Regions from separate parts of the Homo sapiens genome. Here all the other regions are linked to region 3. The links are contacts of gene promoters, found by promoter capture Hi-C in blood cells and fetal thymus (Javierre and others, 2016). All regions are on one chromosome and are shown on one strand. Each heading gives the region's core, a stretch centred on a gene start or on the middle of the fragment in contact. The rest is flanking DNA. Distances are from core to core; before and after follow the strand shown.

Region 1 (4,649 bases), core at 704-3,203, 710 kb before region 3:
TGATTAGGAAAGCAGTCAAGTGACTGATAAGTACACAAATGGAATAGCCCTTGGGAGTTTTTGAGATTGCGTTTGTTTGAAGAAAAGAAGAGCATTTTCTTCATATTGATATGACATTGTATTTGCCAACTGGTATTTACTAGAAGCCCTCCAAGTTCATGATTCACACCTGAACATTCCACATTCTTTAAAATTGTAGTGCACCCTTCATAACTATATATTTAGTATTTTTATAAATTAGATTACAATTTAATTGGAGAATACAATATCAGAAAAATTATCCAAAACTTAGAAATATTGCCTAATCAAATGTGCTACTTGTCTGGCCTTCCACAAGAAAGCACATGAGGAACTAAGACATAATTTTTCCTTCTTATTTGTAAAGTCTAATTCAAAGTTATTAGCTCAGCACAGTAAATATACGTGCTAAAGACTGGGTGAACAATGGCAAATAAACTTTGAAGACCAAATCCTCTTTTACAACTAAAAGTAACATTACTGAGCTTTCTGCAGGATTTTCTGGGTAAGTTTTTCTGCATGGCCAGCCCCAGCAAGGCCCCGAATGCCTGGTTTGCTACTTTCTAATCCTGTAACTTCTCTTCCCATAATAATGTGTAGCTTGTAAGGCCTTAGCTCAATTTTCCAGATGATTTCAGAGACAAAGAATTGCTGATTTGTTACACTAATCTTGACATTTCAAATTACAACTGGAAATAATCTTCCTTAATTAGTCATGTTCTTTCTGTTGAAAATATCAGACATTTGACATATTTGTTTAGCAAATATGTCGATTTTCTGGTCTTTATGGTCTTTCAGTCCCATGTTGATATTCACATATTAAATTTTTAGCTTGCTCCACAGCAAAGATGCAAATATATATGTGCATATGTATATTATATATGTACACATATAGTATATGAATCTACAACCATGCTTGGGGAATACAAGGTATAATATGAATATTATATATATATTCATATATATCTATATATATTTATATATGTGAATCTACAACTATACTTGGGGAAAACAAAGACTTTATCCAGGCTCACCCAGAATGGTTATGAGAAAGTGAAACATTCTTTTCTTCCCTTAATAGGCAAATACATAGTTTAAAAGCTACCTCCCCAAATATGGGAGAATCTTTAGAGAAAGTGTTAAATCACAATAGCATTAAATGTACATTTACTATCAAGTCTTTTGCAATAAAAGCTGACATTAACTTTTTCTCTACAATATTTACTATAGCACTGTGCTTACCCAGGCTTTTATTAATATATGTTTATTTCTGCATTTCCATTTCTCAGCTACCTTTTATATTTTAAAAATTACAGAATTTATAGAAGAAAATTGTAGGCTGATAACAAACAAAAAGGTTTTTCGAAATGGCTAGCATTTGCTCCCAGCAGGGAAAGTAAAGGAATAGTTGCTGTATCCTGAGCCACCCATCCCGGCCCAAGTCTTTGTCCTGCTGAAGTGGTAAATTCTCCCAGAAACGCAACACAAGGTGGTGCTGTTGTATTTATCCTAAACCAGCTGCCAGCCTGGCCACTTAGGCTGTCGGTTTGATCTGAAAGTGGTAGGTGTGTACCAAAGGCATGGGTTTTGCATATGTAGATGTTTACAGTGTAGTCCTCCTTTCAGATAAGAAAAGATAAATAGAAGAAGGAGGAAGAGAGTAAGTTTCTCCACACATGGAAGCTTCTGGAGAAACTGTCTTAAAAAAAAAGAAAGTGCATGGGTTCCTTTTGTTACTAAATTATAGGAGCATGGAAAGTTAGGGCTAGAAGAGATAAAACATTATCTAGCCCATCTTCCTATCTTCAGAGAGGATTTCATTTATAAATTATCAGCCAGTTAAACTTTTTCTTTTGGTTTTAAAATTTTCCAGGGAGGGAGATGCCACTTGCTCCCCCAGCAAATCAATACTCCCTAGTGTTGGGAAATTGTTGTGGACATATGTGCACTTCCTCTTGTTCTGAATCCAGAGGGTATGGGAAGGATTTGATCAGCAGATGTGCCTAGTGAATGAGAAGCACACAAAAAAAAAATGAATTACAAGTCAGGGCTCTGGATTCCTCTCCCTCACTTGCTTAGCTGGGACAAGGTGGGCCTCAGATTTTGCATCTGGAAAACAAAGAGATTGGACTAACATCAGTGGGTTTCCACAAATGGCTGGATCTCAAAATCACCGGGGAAGCTTTTTAAAAAAATACAGATTCCAGGGCCTTGCCTATAAATTTGCTCAGTCAGAAAATCTAGGGCAGGGCCCAGAAATTGCACTTAAAAAAAAATCCAAAAGAACTGTTTTCCTTGGAAAACATTTTTCTTGTCTGAAGACATGGAAATTAGCTAAAAATGTGTAGGCAGGCAGCCCAGCACAGATCTAATGACTGGTGCATAGGTACCACTAGATTAAATAACTCTTAAATCCCATCTGATTTTATGATTTTCCAGGTATCCTTAAAACAAAAGCCCTTGAAAAATAGAAGTGAATTATCCCAGATCTAAAGAATTTCCTCTTGAATCATATTCCCAAGCCTTTGAGTAATCTGCAGTATGGATTTACAGCAAGATGTTTTCTAAATTTTTCAAGCACATGAAATTGGGAAGTCCAGGAATATTATTATAGTAAAGAAAATCCAATAAAGTCCTTGTGTTCAGTCCAATGCCTACACGCTATTCTATTTTCTGGTTACTGTAACTATGAATTAGTTGACAGTTATGAAAATAGTATTTGGACTCTTTCACTTTCATTTTTATAAAACTGGAAAGTTAAAAAACTAGTCAAGTACTTGGCCCATGTATAAATAGATAAGTCACATACTGGCAAATTGAGCTGTATAAAAGTTACTTACACAGACAAAAATGTCTCTAAAGTCTCTATGTAAAACGTTGGCTTTCTGACTCTGAGACTGTCTAGTATCAATGTGAAATTCAGTAACAATGCAATTCAGATTCTTATACCTCAAATGTCTCATTTGAAAGAATCAGATAATTGAAGTATCATTTGTTTATTCTCGTTTATAGTATCAAGGTAAATAATTCTGCCTTCCATTTCCCCTTGCTAATGTAATGTGACCTCAATGTTACATGTTACTAAGTAAATCAATTAGGAGATTTGGCCTGTGTATGTGACTCTTGCAAATGGGTAATTACACCATCAAATAGAAACTTATACACTCTTTGCAAGCCAGTCTTGAAGTCACTTCCAAATAGTTGGTTCTCATTATTTGTACTTTAAGAGCCATTTACAGGTCTAATTAAATTGTTTCTCAGGAATATAAAGATCAATGTTTCCAACCTCATGAATTGAATATATAAAAGAATGCATGAGGCCCAAATTAGCATTTCGTTTATTAAAATAAGTCAGTGTTGGAGCTGAAATCCATTAAATGACTTTAAGTAATCTGTCTGTTAAAGCTTTCAAACCACCTCTCAAAATCTGGCCCAGCTACCACCATTTATCAGTTACAAATTTCCATATTCCTCTGCTGCTCAATCATGCTGTACTAAATTATCTCTGAGATCATGTCTTGTGATTCTCATACAGTAATAACATCTGCATTTCCTGGATTTTCCATGAGCTGTGTCATCCTTTCAAGATTGTTCAAGAACATGTTTGTTCCTTTTATCAGAAGGACAGCAGCACTGCAGATCTTTTCCTACCAAGAGTCCCAAGCTCCACTGAATAAAAATAGCCTTGTGTCCTTTGGAATGCTCTGAACCACTTGGGGAAAAAGAATGTCTGTCATCGAATCACTATCATTTGTAATGTCCTCTCCAAAAGAAAGCCAAGGGGGAAAAATGCTAGAACTATTTGTGACCTCATGAAATACAAAAGAAAATTTACTTAGAACAATACAGCTTTTCTTTATTGTATAGTCCCCACTTCTTTGAACCACACCAATTTTTGGTACCAAACTTTGTTCCTCTTGTGTACAGGCTCTGAGCATGAGGAAATCAGTTGATGTCTCAGTAGTTGGTGCTTTGATAAGCAGATAACCTGTTTTGAACAAGGTTTATCTGCTTTCACTGCCATTACTACTGCTGTCTCCCAAAGACTCAGGATGCCTTCTCCTTGGAGACAGAAAACTTCATTCCTTATTTACCCACAACCCCTATTCAGTGTTGTTATTGAACTGTAGACTACAATGAAAGATTGCAATTCTTCAGTCGGCTCTGTTTTAGTTTTGTCCTTAGTCAAGGTACTGAACTTCTCTGAACTTGAGATACCTCATCTATAAAATGGAAACTGCATGCAAGTGTTGCTTGCGTGGAATTAAGGATTCCAAAAGATAAAGCAATCTTTGCTATGGACTAAATGTTTTTATCCTCCCCGCCGACAAATTCATATGTGGAAATCCTAAGCCCTAAGGCGATGGTGTTAGGAGATGGGGCCTTTGGGAAGTAATTAGGTCGTGAGAGTGGAGCTCTCCTAGTGGGATTGGCACCCTTATAAAAGGGATCCAGGAGAGCTCCCTCATCCTCATTCCACCATGTAAATACAGAGCAAGAATATACTGGTCTATGAACCAAGAAGTGGCACCTTGATCTTGGACTTCCCAGCCTTCAGAACTGTGAGAAATATATATGTTTGTTGTTTAAGCCACTATACTATTCCATGGTATTTTTGCTATAGCAATCTG
Region 2 (4,324 bases), core at 215-2,714, 530 kb before region 3:
AAATAGAAAAAATTGGCATTGTTCAATAACTAGTATTCCTTCTTCCTAACAAACTTTTTATTTCATTAACCTACTAATCATCTAAGATTCTTATGAATATGTTTTTCCTTCTTGTAAATAAAAATTGTTATGAAATATTTTTTCTTGGATCTTCATGAAATGAAAAATGCTTTTAAGTTTTATTATTCAATTACCTTATTTAGCCCTGGAAAATTGAAGAAGAAAATGCCAGTGCACTGTGATATAGTCTTAAAATCCTTCTAAATGCATTGTTTTATATTCAAAAGAACTTAATGCCAAGGCATAAATGACCACAGCAGAGCACTGCTCTACCCTAAAGGTTTTACATCCCAATTCCTTTCCTTTGGCTTATGTTGTCTCAGTTTTCTATATTTCTCTCAAGGTTACGTTACAAAATTATCTATACATACTTGCTCTTCCATATATTTTACCTCTTCTTCTCAGGGCCCTATGTTTTGCTGTAATTTTAAAAATTATCTTCAAGAAAAATTGCCCAATTTTTACAAACATAGTATCCTAAATTCCCACATTTGTGAAAAAAGTATAAATATGTAAATACACATATGTAAAATTTTGTACAGTAGGAATGTTCATTGGGGAAACGTTACTGAAACTGACACAAAGTGTTTAACAGAAATTTGCTTAAAGGGATCAAATTTCACCTGGCATAGGAACATATTTAAAACAGTGGGGTTGACACAATAGCTACATCTGTGTAACCAAACCATCAAGGCTGACAAACTAAATCCAGTTGTTAGTAAAGTTAATGACTAATTCTGATCAATACATGGCCAAAAGAAAAAGAAAACACTGTATCATAAGAGCTGAAAAACATCTACTGGGAAATGACTATTTTGTGAATACTTAAAAGCCTTATAAATGTACTATTATATTTTCACTTTTTCTAAAGTATTATAATTGGCAGGGCTCAAATTAGTAAAGTTAAATATATTTCAACATTTTATTAAACACTGAAAATATTTTATCCATATCAAGTATCAGGGGCTTAAAATGAGCTATTCCAAAAAAAAGTATCTCTCATCAATACTTTCACTTTAAAAGAATTATTATAATTTATCCATATATGAAATACAAAAATTATTAGAACATGTATTAGGCTTAAATTGATTACAAATAAAAAACATTAATCTTGCCTGTAATCCCAGCTACTCAGGAAGCTGAGGCAGGAGAATCACTTGAGCCCGGGAGGTGGAGGTTGCAGTAAGTGGAGACTGAGCCACCGCACTGCAGCCTGGGCGACAGAGTGAGACTGTCTCAAAAAAAAAAAAATTAATACGACAACACAATAATAAATAAATTTAGCTCATCACAAGGGAGCATGGTCATTAAAATGAGTTTAGCAGAATAGTCAATTCAAACTTATTTCCAAAGACTAACAGTATAAATTATAGGCAGTTTGAGATTTAAAATGTGGCAAACCAAAAATAGGGCAGTATAAAGGCTACAGAGACTCAACTACCAATGAATGACAAAGAAAAACTGGCCCAATAGTTAGTCAAAATGTGACTATTAGTACTATTAGGCTAAAATTAAAAGTATTAATAAGTCTATTGATTATAGCAAATAAACCGCCAAAAAGCTCTAACAACTAAGACCCCTTTAACAGCTGAATCAACTTAATTCTTCTTAGACAAATGCTTTTTGCCACAAATATTCATTATACATCCATTTACATATTATGTTCTTAGAAAATAAGAGAAAAAAATCAGAAAAGGAGGCTTCCACATAATAATAGGAATTATTTTTGAAAGAAAATCTGACGTGGGAATCCTAATCTAATTACTGTATCAAAGTCAACCAATTCTTGGTTGAAAGTAAACTACAGTATCATTTCATAAGAGTGTTTACTGATGAAATTAGCCAGGATAAATTGTAATGTTAACAGCCATAATAAATAAATGTCATAAAATACTAATTACTTTTAGTCAACAAAATAAGGTTATTTAACAACTGTCTTAGTCCATTTATTTTTCTATAAAGGAATACCTGAGGCTGGGTAATTTATGAAGAAAAGAGGTTTACTTGGCTCACAGTTCTGTAGGCTGTACAAGAAGCATGGTACCAGCAGCTATTTCTGGTGAGGGCCTCAGGCTGTTTCCACTTGTGGGTGAAGGTGAAGGAGAACCAGCATGTGCAGAGATCACATGGTAAGCGAGGAAGCAAGACAAAGCAGCAAGAAAATCGATAGGAGGGAGGTGCCAGGCTCTTAACAACCAGCTCTGACAGCAACTAATAGAAAACTCACTCATTATCACTAGGAGGGCATCAAGCCCTGTGTCAGGGATCCACCCCCATGTCTGAAAACATCTCCCATTAAGCCCCACCTCCAACACTGGGGATCAAATTTCAACGTGAGATTTGGAGGGATCCAACAAACCAAATGATAGCAATAATGCTCCCAAAATACAGCAGGTATATGAAATATAGCATTACTAATGAAGTGTCCTTTACATCTTCTCTGCCTGCTTCATTAGTGAATTTATTACAATAAAGTTTAAAATAAGGCAAAGAACATTCACCTTTCGGGCCAGGCACAGTGGCTCACGCCTGTAATCCCAGCACTTTGGGAAGCCGAGGCAGGCGGATCACGAGGTCAGGAGATCGAGATCATCCTGGCTAACACGGTGAAACCCCGTCTCTACTAAAAATACAAAAAATTAGGCCAGGCGCGGTGGCTCACACCTGTAATCCCAGCACTTTGAGAGGCCAAGGCGGGTGGATCACCTGAGGTCAGGAATTCGAGACCAGCCTGACCAACATGGAGAAAACTGATCTCTACTAAGGAAAATACAAAATTTTAGCCAGGCATGGTGGCACATGCCTGTAATCCCAGCTACTCAGGAAGGCTGAGGCAGAAGACTCACTTGAACCTGGGAGCAGAGGTTGTGATGAGCTGAGATCGCACCATTGCACCCCAGCCTGGGCAACAAGAGCAAAACCCCGTCTCAAATAAATAAATAAATAAATAAAACAAAAAAATTAGCCAGGTGTGGTGGCACACGCCTGTAGTCCCAGCTACTCAGGAGGTTGAGGCAGGAGAATCGCTTGAACCCGGGAGGCAGAGATTGCAGTGAGCTGAAATCTGGCCACTGCACTCCAGCCTGGGCGACAGAGCAAGCCTCCATCTCAAAAAAAAAAAAAAAAAAAAAGAGAAAAAACAACAAAAAAACAAAACCATGCACCTTTCCCTGATTTAAATGATTCATCAGTAATTATCCAAATACATGGTACTAGCCTATTAGGGAAATACCATGGTTTTAAGACAGTTGTTCTCAATCTTTTTTTTCTTCTTTTCACGAAGGCCCATTCAGGCTAGAGCAGAGAGGGGGAAGCTTACATCCAGTAAACAAAATAGCAGTGATTTAAATAAAACTGAGACCAGAAAACCGACTGCTTTCTACATTTTAGGAACTGATTATCATAAACATAAACTTATCTAACAATATCTGTATTTCTATTTGTAGCAAGCACAAAAGTTACAGTGTGCAGCACACTTTAATCACTGCGTGATTTAATTACTGTGTCAATAAAGGCAGTGGCACAGTCAGAATTTGACAGAATTGAGAAAAGTCCTGCTGAAAAGATGAGACAAGTTCTGAGATGATCATTTTTTATAATGTAAGCACTGTGTACATTTATAAATGGCACGGTAGGGATGGGAGTGGGCTGGGGGTAGAGAATTCCGTAAAACAAGGGAACTTGAGGAAATGCAAAAGACTGAAAAAAACCTGGCATCTTCCAAAGGGTAAAATTAGTATGATTGTTTAAACTATTTTGTCCTTAATTTTAGTCATTTCTAATTTAACAGCTAAAGAACAATTACTGTATAATAACTGAAATATTTAGTATACTTGGTATTACAGCACCCTCTATCACATGATCATATACAGAATACATTTCTATGAACTGGTTGCTTTAATCTGTGAACATTTATGTAGCTCTCTACTGGTTCTAGGGTTTAGTTTACTACTTCCCATCCACGGAGTCAAAAGGACTACTAACTTGTGCAGGCTTAGTATCACCAGTATATTTTAGTACCGTCTGTCCTGCAACAGCAAAAAGCATTATTGACAAAGCAATCCTGAACTCTAAATTATTCCAGGTGTGGTCCTAGTACCAACAGCATCAGAATCACCTGAGATTTTACTAGAGCTACACTAATCCAGCTGTATCCTCAGACCTTCCCTCCCAGTTATAACCTCTGGTGTTGAGGCCCAGCAATCTGTTTTAACAAGCCTTCTAGAGAATCTGGATGCATGCTCCAGTTTGAGAAGCATTACTA
Region 3 (4,388 bases), core at 388-2,887:
CATAGCAATATTTCCTGCTGTCAAAATTAATAAAATATTTTGCACAAGGGTGTTACAATTAATTTTATCAGGCTAACAATGTCATAAGTGAGGAACCCTTTCAACTGTAGAGAGCACTGTGGAAATATAGATGTGGTAGAACAATCTATATCACCCTGCAGTTGTTTCTGTGTTTCTATGACTAGCTTTGTTTGAGATTGTATAAAGCGGTCTTCACACCCCGGTGAATAAGATTGGTGGATGCAGTTCCCTGCCCTGCCGCAGAAGGGACCTCCAAACACAGTTTAAATCTGACTCTCCGGGAGTTGTGTTTTGACACTTTCACAACAGTGTGAACTTGTGCCACAAGCAAGACAGATCTTATTGGATTAACACTGAACTCGTGACAGCTCCAGAGAGTAATGCTATCTGTGCGGCTTAAGAACAAACGTGTTTCTTTCATCCACCCTGCTCATTCTCTTCCTGCAGTTACTCCTAGCAAATCCTCCCCGCCCTCACCTCTAGGAATTCCTCTACACCCAGAGAAAGGAGTTTCTTTCCTCACTGCGGAAACCTATCACCGCTTCCTTTCCACAGATGGACTCCAAGGGGCACTCACTCGTGTGCCCACTAAGGGATTTCTCTCCTAATTCCACGCCTTCCAAGGGAAGTCAGAACTGCTCAGTTTCCCCCGGTGACCACATACACGTGTCCAAGTGAAGCCTCGTCTGGGGGAGACTCAGTTCCCACACTTCCCCCTGGCCCCTGTGGAGGCCCTCTGTCTCCCCTGCGTGGCCCTCCGCCTGGCCCCTCGCACTCACCAGGAGGAGGTTGTGCGCCACCAGGTACCCGAGCCGCGGGCTGCCCCGGATGCCGGGGGCCAGGCGCCCGGTGGCGTAGCCGTGCCAGGCCACCACGTAGGGGTTGTCGATGGTGATCCAGTACTTGACCTGACCGCCGAAGTGGCGGAAGCAGAGCTCCGCGTAATCCCTGAAGTGGTCGGCCAGGGCGCGGTTGGCCCAGCCGCCGTAGGCGTCCTGCAGGCGCTGGGGCAGGTCCCAGTGGTACAGGGTGACCACGGGCTGCACGCCCAGCTCCCGCAGCCGCTCCAGCAGGCGCCGGTAGTAGCGCAGCCCCTCGCGGTTGGGGACGCCCGCGCTGCCATTGGGGAGCACTCGCGCCCACGAGATGGAGAAGCGGTAGTGAGTGACCCCGAGCTCGCGCAGCGCCTCCGTGTCGCGGAAGACGTTGTTGTAGCTGTCGCTGGCTACGTCCCCGGTGGCGGGCTGCAGCGGCGACGGGGCGCCCAACGGCAGACTGGCGTTCCGGGAGTCTCCCGGGGGTGCCAGGGGGTGGTGGGTGAACGTATCCCAGATGGACGCACCCTTGCCGTGCTGCTGCCAGCCGCCCTCGGTCTGGTAGGCGGCGCTGCCCACGGCCCAGAGGAAGCCGTCGGGGAAGGTGCCCTGGAAGAGGCCCGCGGCCTCGGGGGCAGGAGGCCGCGAGAAACGGGCCCAGGTCTGCGCGCCGTCGCCCGGCTCCGCACGCAGGCGGCGGCCGCCCAGGCCCAGCAGCACCAGCAGCAGCGACAGCGACGGCGGCGGCGGCCGCGGGCGGCGCGGCGGGGCGCTGGCGGGCATGCTGCGCGGGAGCCAGGCTCCGGGGCCCCGCGCCGCGCCCCTTTATGCCCGCGCCCCGCCGCGCCCGCCCGCCCACCGCCGGCGCGCCCACCCCCGCTCCCCGGCGGGCTCCGCTGGCAATAATTACCTGCGAGCCGGGACTGCCTCCGCCCTGGCACTGGGGGCGGGGGCAGGGGCGCCGAGGGCGAGGGGTGCCCGGGAGGGGCGCGGCAGCGGGCAAGGTGCGGCAGGCGTCGCCCGCGGACGTCGGAGAAAGGCACCTGTTTCTCCCAGCTCCCGGGAGCCGTGCAGGACGTTTCGTGGACGCTCAGGTTCATTCTCTTTGCCTGCCGCGCGTCCTCTGAGAGCAGCCCTGGAGCGGCTTCGTCGGGGAGAAAAGGCGCCGACCAACTTTCCCCGACTTGGGGGCGGGATCCTGCCGGGCCCTAGCGGAGCGCGCCGCTGGGGAAGCACCTGCTCTCACTTTTCTCCCACTCGGAGGCCCAAAGAAGCTCCGGCTGGACATTGCTGGAGCCAATTAGGGACTGGCCGAAATCCTAGAGGGACTGCCAGGTGGGACAGCCGAGGGGGAACTTCGCCGTGCGCTGAAAGGGATTCCCCCTTAGGTGAGATGCTCGCGGGGAGACGCGCCCACCCGCGCCCCTCTTTCGAGGAAGACAAAGTAGATTTATGGGTTGCGTTGGGACTGGGGTTTTGCTCTCCCTTTTACTGTTACCTTTTAATAATTTCAAACCAGCACTCTATCTTTGATTAGATCTCTCAGAATACCCTGGTGAACTTCAAATCACAGTCGTTGATTGTTCTCCTGAAAAACCAAACACCAAGTTTCCAATTTTGAGTAAATCTCATTCACCTTTATTATCCTTTGGCATCTGTGTTACCTTTCGGCTCTGACTTAGCAGGTAATCTGTGCAAAGTTGTGCGCACAGGTCTGCTGGAGCGGGAGGTCCCTGGGTCGCACATTTGCCATCTGAGCTGTGGAGGGAAAGGGGAGGGAGAATTTAGCCGGAACACCCATTCCCATCCTCTACAATACAATGGAGCCATGACGTTTTTCCTGTTGCCAAAGAGCCCTTTTGACAGAAGTTGCAGAGCCACAGTGTCCATTTGGATGTGGGTAGATAGGATTGTGGCTAACCGAAATACAGTTGGTGGAGACTGAGAAGGTCTAGGCTCCACCTTTGTGATTTGGGGCAGGAAACCTCTGTAAGCCTAAGTTTCCTCCTCTATAAAATAAGGATGTCCTGTCTGCCCTGCCGCCTCAGAGGCTTGTGAAGTCCAGTGAAAAACTGCGCAAAGGTGACTCAAAGACAGAAAGCCCAGACAAGTGAAGGATCTTGCTAATATCCCTACCTCCCTACCCAGTAAGTCGTGCCTTAGTTTCCTCACCCGTACACGTGTGTTGAATGACCAAGATCCTCACAGAGGTGCATCCATTCTCCCCCAGTGATCTATCTTCCCTGCATTATTTAATACAAATTTAAAGGCAATAACATTTTAAATGTTGCAGATGAAGGTGCTTTTATTAATTCCCCTGAAATATAAGCACAAATTTATTCCAGTATTTTATGAAATATTCCCAACTCCAGCCAGCATATATTACCATGATTAGTAAGATTAAGTCTTCAGATTGAAACAGAGTTACTGCCATTCTGTTAAATATAGCATTTACATTTTTTCAATAAATACGAAATAGCAAACCATGACACTTCAGCAATTTTAAAAAATTACAGCACACAACTTCACTGTCACGCTGTCTTCCAGCTAAATTTAAAAAGCTACGTCTACATGGAGTATCACATTTCCCTTCTAGAAGTGAAGATTGGAGTGTCTGTTGGGTTGTAGCTTGTTAAGTTTCAATTAGAAATGCTTCATGGGTCTCATGGAAAATCGCTTAAGCTAAGTATTCATTTATTGATGTATGGTCTGTTTGCTCAGGGCAGATTTTATCTATTGCTATTTTTACTTGACCAGCAGCATTTTTTAAATTTTAAAGCAGTGATTAAAAAGCAAGACCAAGTTAACTAAACGTTTCACATTTGAAATTTGTCTGCCACATAGGCACATGCATCTCAAAGCTTTAAGCATTCCAAGACATGTTCCCAGATGATTGTTCATTTAACCCAGTGATAAAGATTGCATGATGATTAAACTTTATTTCCAGAACTTTCTGTTTATTAAGGTTCTGTTCATGGTTACTAAGTTCTGGGTTCCACAAGTGTGAGACGGAGTCTCACTCTGTCGCCCAGGCTGGAGTGCAGTGGCATGGTCTCTGCTCACTGCAACCTCTGCCTCCCAGGTTCAAGCAATTCTCCTGTCTCAGCCCCCCAGTAGCTGGGATTATAAGGGCACACCACCACACCTGGCTAATTTTTGTATTTTTAGTAGAGACAGGGTTTCACCATGCTGACCAGGCTGGTCTCAAACTCCTGATCTCCTGTGATCCACCCACCTCGGTCTCCTAAAATGCTGGGATTACAGGTGTGAGACACTGTGCCCGGCCTAGTGCTGCTGCTTATTTATTTTGGCTTTATTTTGGTTTTTATTTTTTACAACCACCTTCAAACATCTGAAACTTGGGTTTCAAATGCAAATAAGAGATTAATTACTTGCTGTGCTTTGAACAGGAAGGTGAAGTTATTGATGCATTGAAGAAAAGGACATTGTAAATTTATTTACTGACTTTGATTTTGGTGACAATTTCAACACTGAAAGTTGTCAACAATCTGATCAACTTTTCCTCCATTCTCCACATTCCTTCATCCAGTG

The links. Contacts are between HindIII fragments. The CHiCAGO score rates a contact against its expected background, and 5 or more counts as called.
Region 1: a fragment that was not itself captured here is called in contact with the fragment with the promoter of KL in region 3 in 2 of 17 cell types (M2 macrophages and M0 macrophages); the score reaches 6.6 in M2 macrophages.
Region 2: a contact is called between a fragment that was not itself captured here and the fragment with the promoter of KL in region 3, in 1 of 17 cell types (megakaryocytes). The highest score is 5.4, in megakaryocytes.

What each region holds. Positions count from the first base shown.
Region 1 is chr13:33,720,886-33,725,534 of GRCh38, reverse strand. No RefSeq gene overlaps it. Among named protein-coding and RNA genes, the nearest start is that of RFC3, 95 kb to the left of the region's middle. RefSeq lists a silencer at 1,421-1,590. The HindIII fragment of the contact is 499 bases long and covers 1,704-2,202 here.
Region 2 is chr13:33,543,638-33,547,961 of GRCh38, reverse strand. It overlaps a transcript of STARD13 not described here. Among named protein-coding and RNA genes, the nearest start is that of LINC02344, 210 kb to the right of the region's middle. The HindIII fragment of the contact is 3,825 bases long and covers 1-3,376 here.
Region 3 is chr13:33,013,672-33,018,059 of GRCh38, reverse strand. KL (klotho) reads right to left here and starts at 1,637. Exons shown (of 5, transcript NM_004795.4): 1 at 801-1,637. The coding sequence starts at 1,619. LOC124903151 (translation initiation factor IF-2-like) reads left to right here and starts at 1,607. Exons shown (of 2, transcript XM_047430819.1): 1 at 1,607-2,224. The coding sequence starts at 1,618. RefSeq lists enhancers at 612-671, 880-1,457, 1,458-2,033 and silencers at 742-841, 1,532-1,601. The HindIII fragment of the contact is 5,190 bases long and covers 1-3,699 here.